Linked DNA regions of Homo sapiens: region 2 is linked to region 1. The links are contacts of gene promoters, found by promoter capture Hi-C in blood cells and fetal thymus (Javierre and others, 2016). All regions are on one chromosome and are shown on one strand. Each heading gives the region's core, a stretch centred on a gene start or on the middle of the fragment in contact. The rest is flanking DNA. Distances are from core to core; before and after follow the strand shown. Region 1 holds the start of PPID (peptidylprolyl isomerase D). Region 2 overlaps CTSO (cathepsin O).

The links. The method cuts DNA at HindIII sites, captures the fragments that hold promoters and counts their contacts. A CHiCAGO score of 5 or more calls a contact.
Region 2: a contact is called between a fragment that was not itself captured here and the fragment with the promoter of PPID in region 1, in 2 of 17 cell types (total CD8 T cells and non-activated CD4 T cells). The highest score is 7.7, in total CD8 T cells.

What each region holds. Positions count from the first base shown.
Region 1 is chr4:158,719,790-158,726,494 of GRCh38, forward strand. PPID (peptidylprolyl isomerase D) reads right to left here and starts at 3,607. Exons shown (of 10, transcript NM_005038.3): 1 at 3,415-3,607; 2 at 1,554-1,694. The coding sequence starts at 3,499. RefSeq lists enhancers at 3,017-3,600, 3,234-3,713, 3,601-4,185. The HindIII fragment of the contact is 3,604 bases long and covers 1,459-5,062 here.
Region 2 is chr4:155,944,430-155,951,134 of GRCh38, forward strand. All of the region lies in intron 1 of CTSO (cathepsin O), which reads right to left. Among named protein-coding and RNA genes, the nearest start is that of CTSO, 6.1 kb to the right of the region's middle. The HindIII fragment of the contact is 6,081 bases long and covers 1-5,569 here.

The DNA.
Region 1 (6,705 bases), core at 2,357-4,856:
CAAATATATCACTTTGTGTCAAAGGTTACCAAGATTGCTTTCATGTTCAGAGAACCCTAGAGCTCACACAAATCAGTATGTGGTTGGATCACAGTGGTAAGGATACACAGCGAGATGACGGGAAAGACACAGGCAGAGTCTGGAAAAATCCATGTGCAGGCTTCCTTATGCTTTCTCCGTCCCATGAAGTGCTACAGAACACACACTTCCCCCAGCAACAAAAATGCAGCAACATGTACACAGTATTTCTGCCCAGGAGAGCCAATTAGAGACTCAGCACCCAAGGTATTTATTGGGCACACTCTACCTAGCATGTACCAAAATTCCAGACTCCCCAAAAGAGAGCACACATTCATGTTTGTACAAATAGGCTAGGCATAGTAAATCACCATTACTATTTAGGAAATGGTACAAGTGTCAAGTTCCCAGACTCCAAACAAGTGCTACTCTTGCAGGCAGACCTTTCTAAAGATAGCAGTCTCACACTTGCTATGTTAAATATTTTCTGCATATAGTTTATTAGCATATTTCAAGTTTTTATTAAACATGAAAGTAAACATTTTAAATATTTTTTAAAAAGTTAATTTTTTCTTAATAAATCGTTTAAAAAATGTTGCTCTTGTGATTATTGCTTATTTGCCTATTTATTAAACAAATACTTACTGAGTTCTTACTCAATAACTGTATTAGATGCCAAAAACAAAATGGTGAAAACATACAGTTCTTGAACTCATAGAGCCTGCAGTCTATTGGGAGAACCATTATCACTAAACAAAAGTATGATTCATTACAAAGTGTAATAAGCAGTATGAAATGGCATATTTTGACCACACTATCACCCATGTGCCCAAAACACTGAATCTTCAAATCTGCTGCCTTCCCAAGCACTCAGGCCCAAAAATTATGCATTTTTTTGTTTGTTTGTTTGTTTGTTTGTTTGTTTGAGGCAGAGTCTCACTCTGTCGCCCAGGATGGAGTGCAGTGGCGTGATCTCGGCTCACTGCAAGCTCCACCTTCTGAGTTCATGCCATTCTACTGCCTCAGCCTCCCGAGTAGCTGGGACTACAGGCGCCCACCATCACACCCGGCTTATTTTTTGTATTTTTAGTAGAGACGGGGTTTCACCGCGTTAGCCAAGATGGTCTCGATCTCCTGATCTCGTGATTCACCCGCCTCAGCCTCCCAAAGTGCTGGGATTACAGGCGTGAGCCACTGCGCCCGGTCTATGCATAACTTTTTTGTCACCAGGCAATGAAGCTACCTAAGGTTGGTTGACTACGGCCTTCCTTTCTCAATCAAATCATCTTAGAGTGAAGGAGAATGAGAGGATGGGTAAAGCTAGGGGAGTCCATTTCTCTATAGATAAACCTTAGTACCATAAGTAATTCCACCTCGCACAGCCTAACCTTTACGAAACTGCGTTACTGCCTCAGACATGGACGCTAATAGTACTTTTTAAGCTTCACTTCCTACTTAGTGTTTTCTTCCCCAAATCCTAAAGAACAGGACTTGTCTGTATGAAGAATAACAAGATTAAGAAAATTTACACATACTTCGATGAAAAGGGCATCCTTTGAAATGGAGAGGTTTCCCAGTCGTGTGTCCAATGCCTTTTTCTCCTGTACACAGTGCACGAAAATTTTCCGCAGTTTTGGGTACGATATCTGCAAACAATTCTAAGACAATTCGACCAACTAAAAGAAAAGAAAATCTTGTCAGTATGCAAAACAACCAAATAGACAAATGATAAAAAGAAGGTTGGTATAATTATGGTAGCAGATCAATCATGAATTACCAAGTTCCCCTTTACTGTAATTTTTCTTTTTTGCAATTTCAAGAACACAACACATTGCTACTAACTATAGTCATTATGTTATACAATAGATCTCTTAAATTTATTCCCCCTTTCTAACTGAAATTAGGTCTCTCGTGATCAACATCTACCCAACCCCTGAAATCCACCATTCCATTCTCTACTTCAAGGTCAACTTTTTAGAAACCACATGTAAGTGAGATCATGCCTTGTCTTCCTGTGCCCAGCTTATTTCATGTAACATAATGTCCTCCATATTAATTCATGTTGTCAGAAGTGACAAGATTTCATTATTTTTTATGGGTGAATAGTACTCCACTGTGCACATATATCAAATTTTAAAAAAAATCCATCTGTAGATGGAAACCTAGTTTGATTCCATTATCTTGGCTATCATGAATAATGCTGCAATGAACATGGGAGTGCAGATACCTCTTTGACATACAAACTTCATTTCCTTTGAATATACTCACTAGAATTAGTGAATCTTATTTTATTCTAATATTCAAATTTAGTCTACCTACTGTCATGTATGTATATAAACAGATTTGAAACATTACACTAAGGATCATAACCAATTATAGTAGCCAAAAGATTAGCACCATGTAAGAGATATCATTAAATACAAATAGTTTTAAATCCTGAGTAATTTCTTCAAGAGGTACTGAGAATTTCCAATCACCAAGCAACCAACGGGAGAAAATTAAACAGTCTTTGGGTGGGCGGACTTGCCACGTGTTACGTATACCTGCAGCCTTTGTGCTCTGAGCAAACTGCCTCATGCAACCTCTGAAGCAAAAGCTGTAAAAATTCCTCCTCTAGATAGCAGCTAAGACAGGTGAGATTAAACCTAGCCCTAGCTAGTTGCAACAAACTGAATGTACGTGTAAACGTGTGTGTGTCCTGTACATGCATTCAAACACATTGCCTGGCCAGCAATTCCAACGTGTTCCAGAACAAGGCCAATCCAGTTACAAAGCAACACGCTCCCTAATTCACCAGGCCTTAGGAACTTCTGAGCGGCTATGTAACCTAGGCAACACCATCACTACGTTGAGCGCATTTTCCCAATGGCAAATTAAGAGAAAATGTTTGCTCATCTGAACGGACCTCTAAATTAAGAATCAGTAATAAGGCAAAAGCAATGAGCAAACAAGTCCCTTTAACGTATAAATAACACAGCACGTGCTGATATATTATCTCATGTGGCAAATATAGTTTCCTGGGGCCCAGCAGACGCATATCCCAGGATATGCTTTCCGAACTGTCCCATTGCAAACATAAAATATTTCATGCTAACTTGGTAGTGCAAAGGTGGCGTGGAAGTGCCACCAAATCAGGAGGCAAACCTAAAGGACGCCACAATTCCCGAACTAGAAATTTCCAGAAACTTCCGCACCACCGATGGCATTGATACAAGGGCGCTGGATCGATCTAGCCCTAGATCTCCGGGCCTGCTCCGGCGGACCAGCCTAGGCAGCCATCCCCTCCGCGAAACTGAGCAGTCACCGGCCGGAGCCGCATTCCGCCCTTGGAATCCCCCAAATCCCGGGAACCCCCGCCTCCTCGGGGCTTTTCCGCGAGCGTCAGACTCCGCTCACCTCGCTCCCCTCCGATGTCCACGTCAAAGAAGACTCGAGGGTTACTGGGGTTGGAGGGCTTGGCTTGGGGGGACGGGTGCGACATCTTGACTTGCAGACGTGTTTAGTACGGAATATCAGAGTACCTAGTGGCCGCCCGGGCCGCCCAAACTCCAGAGTCCGTCTCCGCCGGAGACCGGCAGCGACGCTGACCGGCCACTTCCGACGCAAGAACCGGAAGCCATGGCCTGACTTCCGGCACCGCCCCGCTCCCCCGCGCGGTGTTTCAAAGAGCCTGAGCGACTCCGTGCAGCGAACCGCGTGCCCTCCGCCACCTGTTCCTGGCTTCTCATTTAATGAAGTTGCGATCCCAGTTCTCATTATTCTTCTCGCTTGTGTTTCGTTGTCTTTCCCACCCTCGTGGCGTAGAGAGCTTTGGAGTCAACCCCATGCCAGCGTCAGCTCTGCCACCAAGTTGGGTGTGACTTCTCAGAAACTCAGTTTGCTCCTCTGGAAAAAGAATAAAAACGCTGACCTCGGAAGGTCGTTTTGAGGATTAAAGACATGAATCAGTACAATGCCTGGCATAAACTGGTGGTACCCAACCAATAGGAGCCTTATTATTGCCATGTCGTTACAATTTGATCTTCACATTACAATGTAAGTGGTAAGGCTTAGACTAAACGCTCCAAACAGCTAAAGCTGAGAGTCCAGAAGAGAGCACAGTTTTGATTCCTGATAAAACTGTATTTGGCGGGGCGCGGTGGCTCACGCCTGTAGTCCCAGCACATTGGGAGGCCGAGGCGGGCGGATCATTTGAGGTCAGGAGTTCGAGACCAGCCTGACCAACATGATGAAACCCGTCTCTACTAAAAATAAAAAAAAAAAAAATCACCCGGGCGTGGTGGTGCTTGCCTGTAGTCCCAGCTACTCGGGAGGCTGAGGCAGGAGAATCGCTTGAACCCGGGAGGCGGCGGTTGCAGTGAACCGAGATCGCGCCACTGTACTCCAGACTGGGTGACAGAGCGAAACTGTCCCCCCCCCCCCCAAAAAAAAGAAAAACAAAAAAATACTGTATTACTATAGCCCACTTTTCCCTTATGGGGATCTGTGTAAAACATTTACTTTTTACACACACACACACACACACACACACACACACACACACACATATATATGAGGAGAACATAGCCTTGCCTCTTAATAAAGCCTAATTTTGGAGAAGAGTGGCAATTCCCTGTGTAGATGCTTTGCCCTGTAGTTCTATTGGAGCTCAGCAATTTGGATTCAGCCTGAGGCTTACTTTATCAATAAGGCAGGAGATATCCTTAGATGCTTCACATTTTTTTTTCTTATGAGAAAGTAAAAAGTATTGGAATCCAGCACTCAAATAATGTCTCAAAAGCCAGGAGCCTTGTGTCAACAGCAGCAGCCAGAGTGGCTTTTTGGAAGGAAAGACCAGTGCTAATTTTCCCCTATCAGAGCTGTCACCATCCCTCTAGATGAAGGCTCCTGCCCTACTTGCTACCCGGTCTTAGGATAAGTAAAAGTTAGAAGGGTTACGGTTAAAGAACAACTGATTCCTATTCTCAATTTGAATTTGCCTGTGATGTTATACACTGGACTAAGCACGAAAGTTGATGTTAAAAAAGAAAAAAAAAAAAGCAAAAGCTTCAAGTTCTGACTACATGTATACTAGGCATGTTACCAAAGAAAAGTCATTTAATTTCTCTGAACCCTTCTCATTTCCTTTTCGGTAAAGTGCCAAAGAACAGGGTATGAGAATGGAAAAAGATAATGTGTAAGCATTTGCCTTGTAATCTCTAAAGCATTCTTATACACTCTTTTTTAAATTACTGAAAATTAGATGCTATAGTGCCTGAAGTTGTTTTAAAATAACCTGGAGTCAGGTAAGTGGGTTGGGTTGTGGATGAAACATAAGGGCCAGGCAGATGATTGGTGCATGGGAGTTTATTATACTACTCTTCTTTATTTTGCACATTTAAATTTTTTCATAATATTTTAAAAAGTAAAAGAGAAATTACATGTATTACTAGCTACTCATAATAAAACCAATTTGTTGGCCGGGTGTGATGGCTCACGCCTGTAATCCCAGCACTTTGGGAGGCCAAGGTGGGTGGAAGGCTTGAGCCCAGGAGTTCAAGACCAGCCCAGACAACATGGTGAAACCTCATCTCTACAAAAAATATTTTCTAAACAATAAATAAATAAATAATAAAACCAATTTATAGAGTCGTTTTTAATTAAAATACCAACATACCTTTTGTGAAAAAATAAATAATAGGTGTCGGTGAAATTTTAGGACAAATCAGTAAGGATATTATATTGATTGAATTTTTCTGTGTAATCACAAATTTGCCTTATTAACAAAATGCATACATACATAGGCATGTCCACATAGATACTCAGCAAAAGTTGATTCAATTATATGACAAATATTTAGCTCTTACTGTATGCCAGCCTCCATTCTGAGTGCTGATGATACAATGATGAAAAAACATATTCCTTATCCTTTTTTTTTTTTTTTTTTTTTTTTTGAGACAGGGTCTTGTGCTATCACCCAGGCTGGAGTGCAGTGGTGCAATCACAGCTCACAGTAGCCTCAACCTCCTGGACCCAAGTGATCTTCCCACCTCAGCCTCTTGAGTAGCTGGGACTACAGGCACATGCCGCCATGCCCAGGTAATTTTTTTTTTTAATTTTTAAGTGTAATTCAAAATGATTTCCTATCAGATTTCCTTGCTGATCCTTTCAAATTCCAGCACATTAAAGTTAATACAAAATGTTAATTTCTTATGTTCTCCAATTCCTGGTGTTTATTCATGGTATTTATTCATGGTGGTTCCCTGAAGATCCAGGACGGCTCAGAACAAAACTCCTGTGTCTCTTGATAAACAAGAGCATCAAAATCATTCATTAATCCAGTCTCATGTCTGGGCTGCAAACTGATAACTTATATTTTGTCTCATATATATCACAATAAGTTCACATTAACATTTTTATTCTGATCTACTAGCTTAAATTTAACATTTTAGTAGAGATGGGGTTTCGCCATGTTGCCCAGGCTGGTCTTGAACTCCTGGGTTCAAGCAATCTGCCCACCTTGGCCTCCAAAAGCATTGCAGGCATGAGCCACCACGCCTGGCCCCTTATCCTTAACTACACAAATTATACAGTCTTATGGGGGAGAAAGACTATTGAATAAACCTCTACAATGCAATATAATTAGTGTTTTAATAGGAAAAAGACAATCACATTCAGCACACAGCAGGGGCACTGAACACAGTAGCC
Region 2 (6,705 bases), core at 1,279-3,778, 2.8 Mb before region 1:
TTCTGTATATGGCAAATGACAAATATAAGCCAGAGACTATTAACTGCTAAGGAATTCAGAGGATTCATTCATTCAATAAGTACTGCCTGGCCATCTTTGTGAGCTGGAGTAGTCAGGAAGGCACTGAAAATGTAGGATGTTAAGAATGCACAGGAGAGAATGTGGCAGCCATGAGAATGTGCCTCCCAGCCTTCTTTCTATAGGGAGTTTAGCTGCTGCTAGTTGAAATCTCCATGATCACACCAAGGGAAGCCACAGTTCTTACGGGCTGCACCTAGCTCATGACTTAGTGCTAAGGCTTGCTATTTGGGAGACAAATGGGACTCCCCTGACAGCTGGTTTTTGATTAATGACTCCCTGATGGCCTTGCCAAACCAAAGTTTCCTTGGACTGTGAGACAGCATGGAACTCTTCCCCAGTCTTCCTTCCTTTTTTCCTTCACTCAGGGTCAGAATTACATTGCAATCAGATAGCTCTACCTGGACCTCTCCCTATTAGTTCACAGGAATTGCTCCTGTGATTGATTAAAAAAAAAAAAAAAAAAAGCCTGGGAGCAGTGGCTCACACCTGTCATCCCAGCACTTTGGGAGGCTGAGGTCGGTGGATCATCTGAGGTCAGGAGTTCGAGACCAGCCTCGCCAACATGGTGAAAGCCTGTCTCTACTAAAAATACAAAAATTAGCCGGGCGTGGTGGTGGGCGCCTATAATCCCAGCTACTCAGGGGGCTGAGGCAGGAGAATCGCTTGAACCTGGAAGGCGGAGGTTGCAGTGAGCCGAGATCACAGCACTGCACTCCAGCCTGGACGACAGAGCGAGCCTCCAACTCAAAAAAATAAATAAATAAATAAAAAATAAGAAAAGAATGAGAAGACATGAATAACCAATTTACCAATATTAGGAATGAAAGAAGAGCCATGATTACAGATGCTTCAGGCATTAGAAGAATAATATTTTGACAACTTTATGACAATAAATTGGCAAACTGTACAAAATGGACAAACTTTTTGCAAGGCACAGATTGCCAAAGATGAAAGGAGAAATAGAAAACTTGAGCAGCCTTTTATCAGCTAAAGGCATTAAATTTGTAAGTGAAAACTGACTCACAAAGAAAACTTCAGGCCCAGGTGGCTTTTTGGTGAACTTTATACAATGAAGAAAGAAGTAATACCAATATTATCCTTTGAGAAAATCAAGAAGAAGGGAATACGCTGCAACTTAAATAAGACCAGTGTTACCCTGATTCTAAACCAGAAAAATGTATCTAAATAAAATAGAACTACATACCAGTATCCCTCATAAATACGCTGTAGACACAAAATCCTTAACAAAATAGCAAATCAAATCTAACAATATATGTTAAGGACAATATATTGTGACCAAGTGAAGTTTATTTAGAAATGCTAGGTTGGTTTAAAATTTCAAAATCAATCATCAGTACGATACACCATATTAACAGAACAAAAAAGGAATATACCACACACACACCACACCACACCAAATGCGCACACACACACATACGCACGCACATGAGGTATAGACTGGTACGCCCTTTCAAGATCCTTAAAATTACACAAATTGTTTAATTAAGAAAATCTAATTCTAGGAATGGATTTTAGACTCTTGAGTGTAGGCAATGCTGTACGTGTGGGTTCTACACGTGTGTCTGGGAGGGGAGGCAGTAGTTGAGCCACATACTCTATTTAGTTGGAGAGCTAATGCAAGTTTATCTCACTAGATCATTTGTGACATCTACGAGAGAAACAATATATTGCCACTCAAGTTGGCAAATGCCAGATGAAACAAACTTATACATCGTTGGCAGGGAGTTCCCATGTACTTCTCTTAATTTTTGTGTTGCCTTATAAGTGTCATTTCACCATCCAAAGTTTAGGTGTTCCGGTTGTGAAGTAGTTATAATAACACCAATTTAATAATGAAATAAATGAATGTATTATTTATTTATTTTAAATATTTATGTCCCTAATTTTCAATGATGATTCCAATAACAGTTACTTGGTTTTGGTCTTGTGCCATGTGTTTGAAAAGACAAATATCTCCACATATATTTTCTATTTGTTACCACTTGATACACTGTTCTTTATGTCAGCGGCACTAGTGTCTGCAGGACTTCTGAAAATGTTGCTGTCTTCCACTTGTTCAACCAGGAGCCAACTTCTAAAAGAATTCCATTTGCTATTCTGGTGTAATGACTCCTGTCATTTCACAGCTCTCCATAGCCCATGTCAGGGCTACTCAATCTTTATACAAATTGTTGACTTCCTGCCAACAGCAAAATACTCTAAACCACTAAGTGCTCTGCTTCGTCCTCTCCCTACCACTAATCTCTACCCACTTGTTTTGATTTTGCAAAACCATTAATAACATTAAAAGTACTTCCTTGGAGGCTTCTGAACACAGCGTAATAATAATAATTATTATTATTTTGAGGCGGATTCTCGCTCTGTCGCCCAGGCGAGTGCAGTGGCGTGATCTCAGCTCACTGCAAGCTCCGCCTCCCGGGTTCACCCCATTCTCCTGCCTCAGCCTCCCGAGTAGCTGGGACTACGGGCACCCGCCACAATGCCCGGCTAATTTTTTTTGTATTTTTTTTAGTAGAGATGAGGTTTCACCGTGTTAGCCAGGATGGTCTCAATCTCCTGACCTCGTGGTCTGCCCGCCTCAGCCTCTCAGAGTGCTGGGATCACAGGCATGAGCCACTGCGCCTGGCCTCTTTTTAACTTTGCAACAATTTGAAATGTCTTACCATTGCTGTGCAATTTTTGGCTATATAATCAACCTCTCTGAGCTTTATTTCCATCAACAAATGGAGTAATACTGATCTGGAAGAATGTAAGGATGAAATAAAATAATAATTGGAAAACACTTATTACAGAGACTGGCAAAATAAATGCTCAGTTAAAATACTCTCATCCTCTATCTTCCTTTTCCTTTAAACAGAGTATTTGGATTATAGAAATGGCGCTCAAAGACCATACTTTCAGATTCACTTGGAGCAAGTATTTCTCATGTCATTAGAAATGAGGATCAATATTATCTATTGAAAGCAATCTGTTGCTTTCATGGTAAAATAATACTATCAGTATATCCAAGAATATCTATTCTCTTATTTATTTATTGTCTTGTTTGCTATACACTTATCAAGTTCACTAACATGGGTTTCACATCATTTAAAATTTAAAAAGCCCTGTATTTCATTTCTTGAATTATCAATTCTTTTAAGTGACTTTTCCGGTCTCTCTTGATTCTGGCTATTAAAGATTTCATAGACGCATCACAAACTGAAGTCTGTATGAGGCCCTTGCTGCTCATTACATCCAACAACCTCCGTTAGGTAAAGGATCAGTGGGCACATGTTCTCAACAGAGGATATGATAGGGAGCAAATTTAGAGTAGCCATCTCTAAAGTCATATAAAATATTAAAGAAAAGACCTGAACCTTAACTTCATTTATGAGAGGAAAGACGTAAAGTTTTGATGAATACATAGGAAACTTCTCATTGATACTTTTGAAAAGTGCAGATGTTTAAAAATTAGATCTTACATGAGAAAAATTAGAGCTGATAAATCAGAACAGCCTTGGTGAACAGATTTGGTGAAAAATAACTACCTTCACCTTTTTTTTGTTGTTGTTGTTAAATGTGTTTAATTGAATGAGTTACAAAGGGAGATACCAGATTCCTGAACAGAAGGGTAACTCAGAACCCAAGAGATTGAAGAAATTATCCTGATTATAAAACTAGGAAAAACATGTCCCTTGGGCATTAGTACGTCTTGTGCATACTAAGTCTCTATTTATTATAGGTATAACCTCTCAAATTCATACCTAGGACCCTGTCCCTGTAAGACTCTGTCCCTAAAGCTATCCTTATTATGACTTCTAGCAGCCATCCTTCTAAGAGGTAGAATCTCTTAAAGCTGCCTTTGTGTGTGTGTGTGTGTGTGTGTGTGCACATGTGTACTGGAGGTGATCACATATTTGAACTGTGATTTAAATGTAATATGTTTCTAAGCAGTGTCTTCCATATTCTAATTTCCCGCCTGTTAGCCTAGCTAGGATGCTTCATGAGTATGCTAAAGGAGGTTGATAAGAACTGCAGAGTAGTCATGAAACATCCCAGCAAGGCCAAACAACAAACAGAGGATGGGTTCAGTCTGATCATAAAACAGGATAACTCTATTGACAAGAGACCTGAACCAGTCTCATGAGGAGGTTAGGCTGCAGTTTTAAAATTCCTCAGAAATCAACATTTTTCTTACAGGATCAGAAAGCCCTTCCAGCTATCTCAGGCATCTTGGCCCTCTTACCTTTCCAGCTGTGGGTAACCACAGTCTTAGATAATGCTCCGGCTAGGGTAAGTTAAGAGGAAAATGGTCATGTTCAAAACAATCAAAGAGTAGAAACCCAAGGAGGGTGACTTGAGGGGTTCTCAGATGTTTCCTTAATCTACTTCCCTGAGGGGAAAAATCTGTGAAATCTTTCTCACAGACTGCCACTAAGTAAGAGTAAATGAAATCATGTATTTTCTTCTTGCATGTACTCAACTGTTTCTAAAGGAGTAAGCGAATCTTTTATGAGCAAACTGTTGAGTTTTCATTTCTCTACAAGGAAAGTTCTCAGCCACTGAATGCACTAAATACAAAGGGTTGAAGGGATTGTTAAATTGAATGCAAGTATTCATTCTAAGTGTTTTACATGAATTAACTTAGCCCTGTATAAAGGTAATTGCTAACATTAGCCCTCTTCACAGAAGAATAAATCTGAGAAACAGATACATGATTTGCCTAAGATCACACAACTAGTATTTGGTGGAGGGGTATAGTTATTTAGCCTGCAAGAAATCTACTGAAGCGTTATAAACTTTAAGGGACTTCATGTCTGTTTTATCAGCTGAAAAGGCAGTGAACATCTATTATTTTTCCCCATTGATATCTAGGTTTCCTTCCACTAATGATGATTTATTTGCCTTTATCAATATACGCAATGATGTGTGTATTCCCTTACAATGAATCCCATGTATCCATGGGATAAGTTTTATATTGAAATTAACAGAGACACCTAAGGTACTTTGGAAGCTCACTTTATCTTCGGCACTTTAAACTCATTGTTTGTCTTGCAGTTCCATTACTCAGACTTTTAACAACTTTCATTTGCAGATTTTGAAGTTTCATAGGATAAATCATAAATTGTACACATAGATTTAAAATGTTCTCCTTAGGAGTGCTTTCGTTTCTGGAAATTGCAGTAAAGCTGAGGATGAGCAAAAAAGGTAAAATATTTGTATACAAAGAGCATCACTGAGAATTTCTTGGAAGACTTAGGAGTTGTAAACTTTAGATCAGTGATTCTCAACTGAGGATAATTTTGTCCCTCATTTGTCATACTGGGGATTGTCATACTGGTGGGATGCCACTGGCATCTGGTGCATAGAGCCCATGCATGCTGCTACTCACCCTACAATGAAGAGGAAGGTCCCCCACAACAAATCACTATCCATTCTCAAATGTCAATAGTGCCACTGTTGAGGAGCCTTGGATTAGAACAATAAAAGCTTTTTAAGGATACACTTTTATAAAGTACAGCTTTTGAAAAGTTTCTTAGACAAAGTATTTTCTATACAGTGTACTGAAGTGTGTGTAAACATATTGCAGATATATGTTTACTATGTATGATAAGAAATGTGTAGTCAGGATTTGTGTGAGCATGTACACAAAAAGATTGAATTAAAAATACATTCTTTTGTGAACTACTTGGGAGAATCTATTTCTCCAGTGTATAAGTCTTTACATTCTTTTTATTTACAGGAAAATGTTTATTTACAGGATACAATGCTTAAACATAACGATATTCATTTTTTGTGTACATTTCTTACAGGACAGCACGCGTCTTATTCTCCACTGTATCCCTCAGAAAACCCAGACCAGTTCTTTAGACACAGTGGAAATTAAATAAAGTATTGGATAAATGTATGGGAAGATGAATAAATTATAACCTATGATTTTAAGTTTATGATATATTTCCATTTAGTCAATGTATGCTTTAAGTGAGATTCATCAGAAAAAGTCTGCTGAACAACCTTATCTAACATCAAATTCGTGTTTTCATCTTTATATAAGGTAGAACAGGAGTCTCAAAACCCTGGGCCATGGACCAGTACTGTTCTGTGGCCTGTTAACGACCAGGCTGCACAGCAGGTGGTGAGGGGCCTGCGAGCATGCATCACCACCTGATCTCCACCTTCTGTCAGATCGGCAGCAGCATTAGATTATCATAGGAGCACAAACCCTACTGGGAACGGTGCATGTAAGGGATCTAGTTTGCACAGTCCTTATGTGAATCTAATGCTTGATGATCTGGGGTGGAACAGCTTCATTCTGAAATCATCCGCATCCTCCTCACCCCACCCCCACACCCCAGTCCGTGGAAAAATTGTCTTCCATGAAACCAATCCCTGGTGCCAAAAAGTTTGGGGACCACTGAGGTAGAAAATAGGTTTTAAAGCTTTCTTGGATAAAGCCTATTTGGAGGACCTAATTCCAGATTTCAAGGGGCTGATTACGGCAAGCACATATAAGTGGCTCATTAGTTAGGATCACTTGTTATAAAGATGCTATGGCCATCTATTTACACATAAATAAATATTCCTAAATATATAAATAATCTTATAATAATATAACCTGTGTCA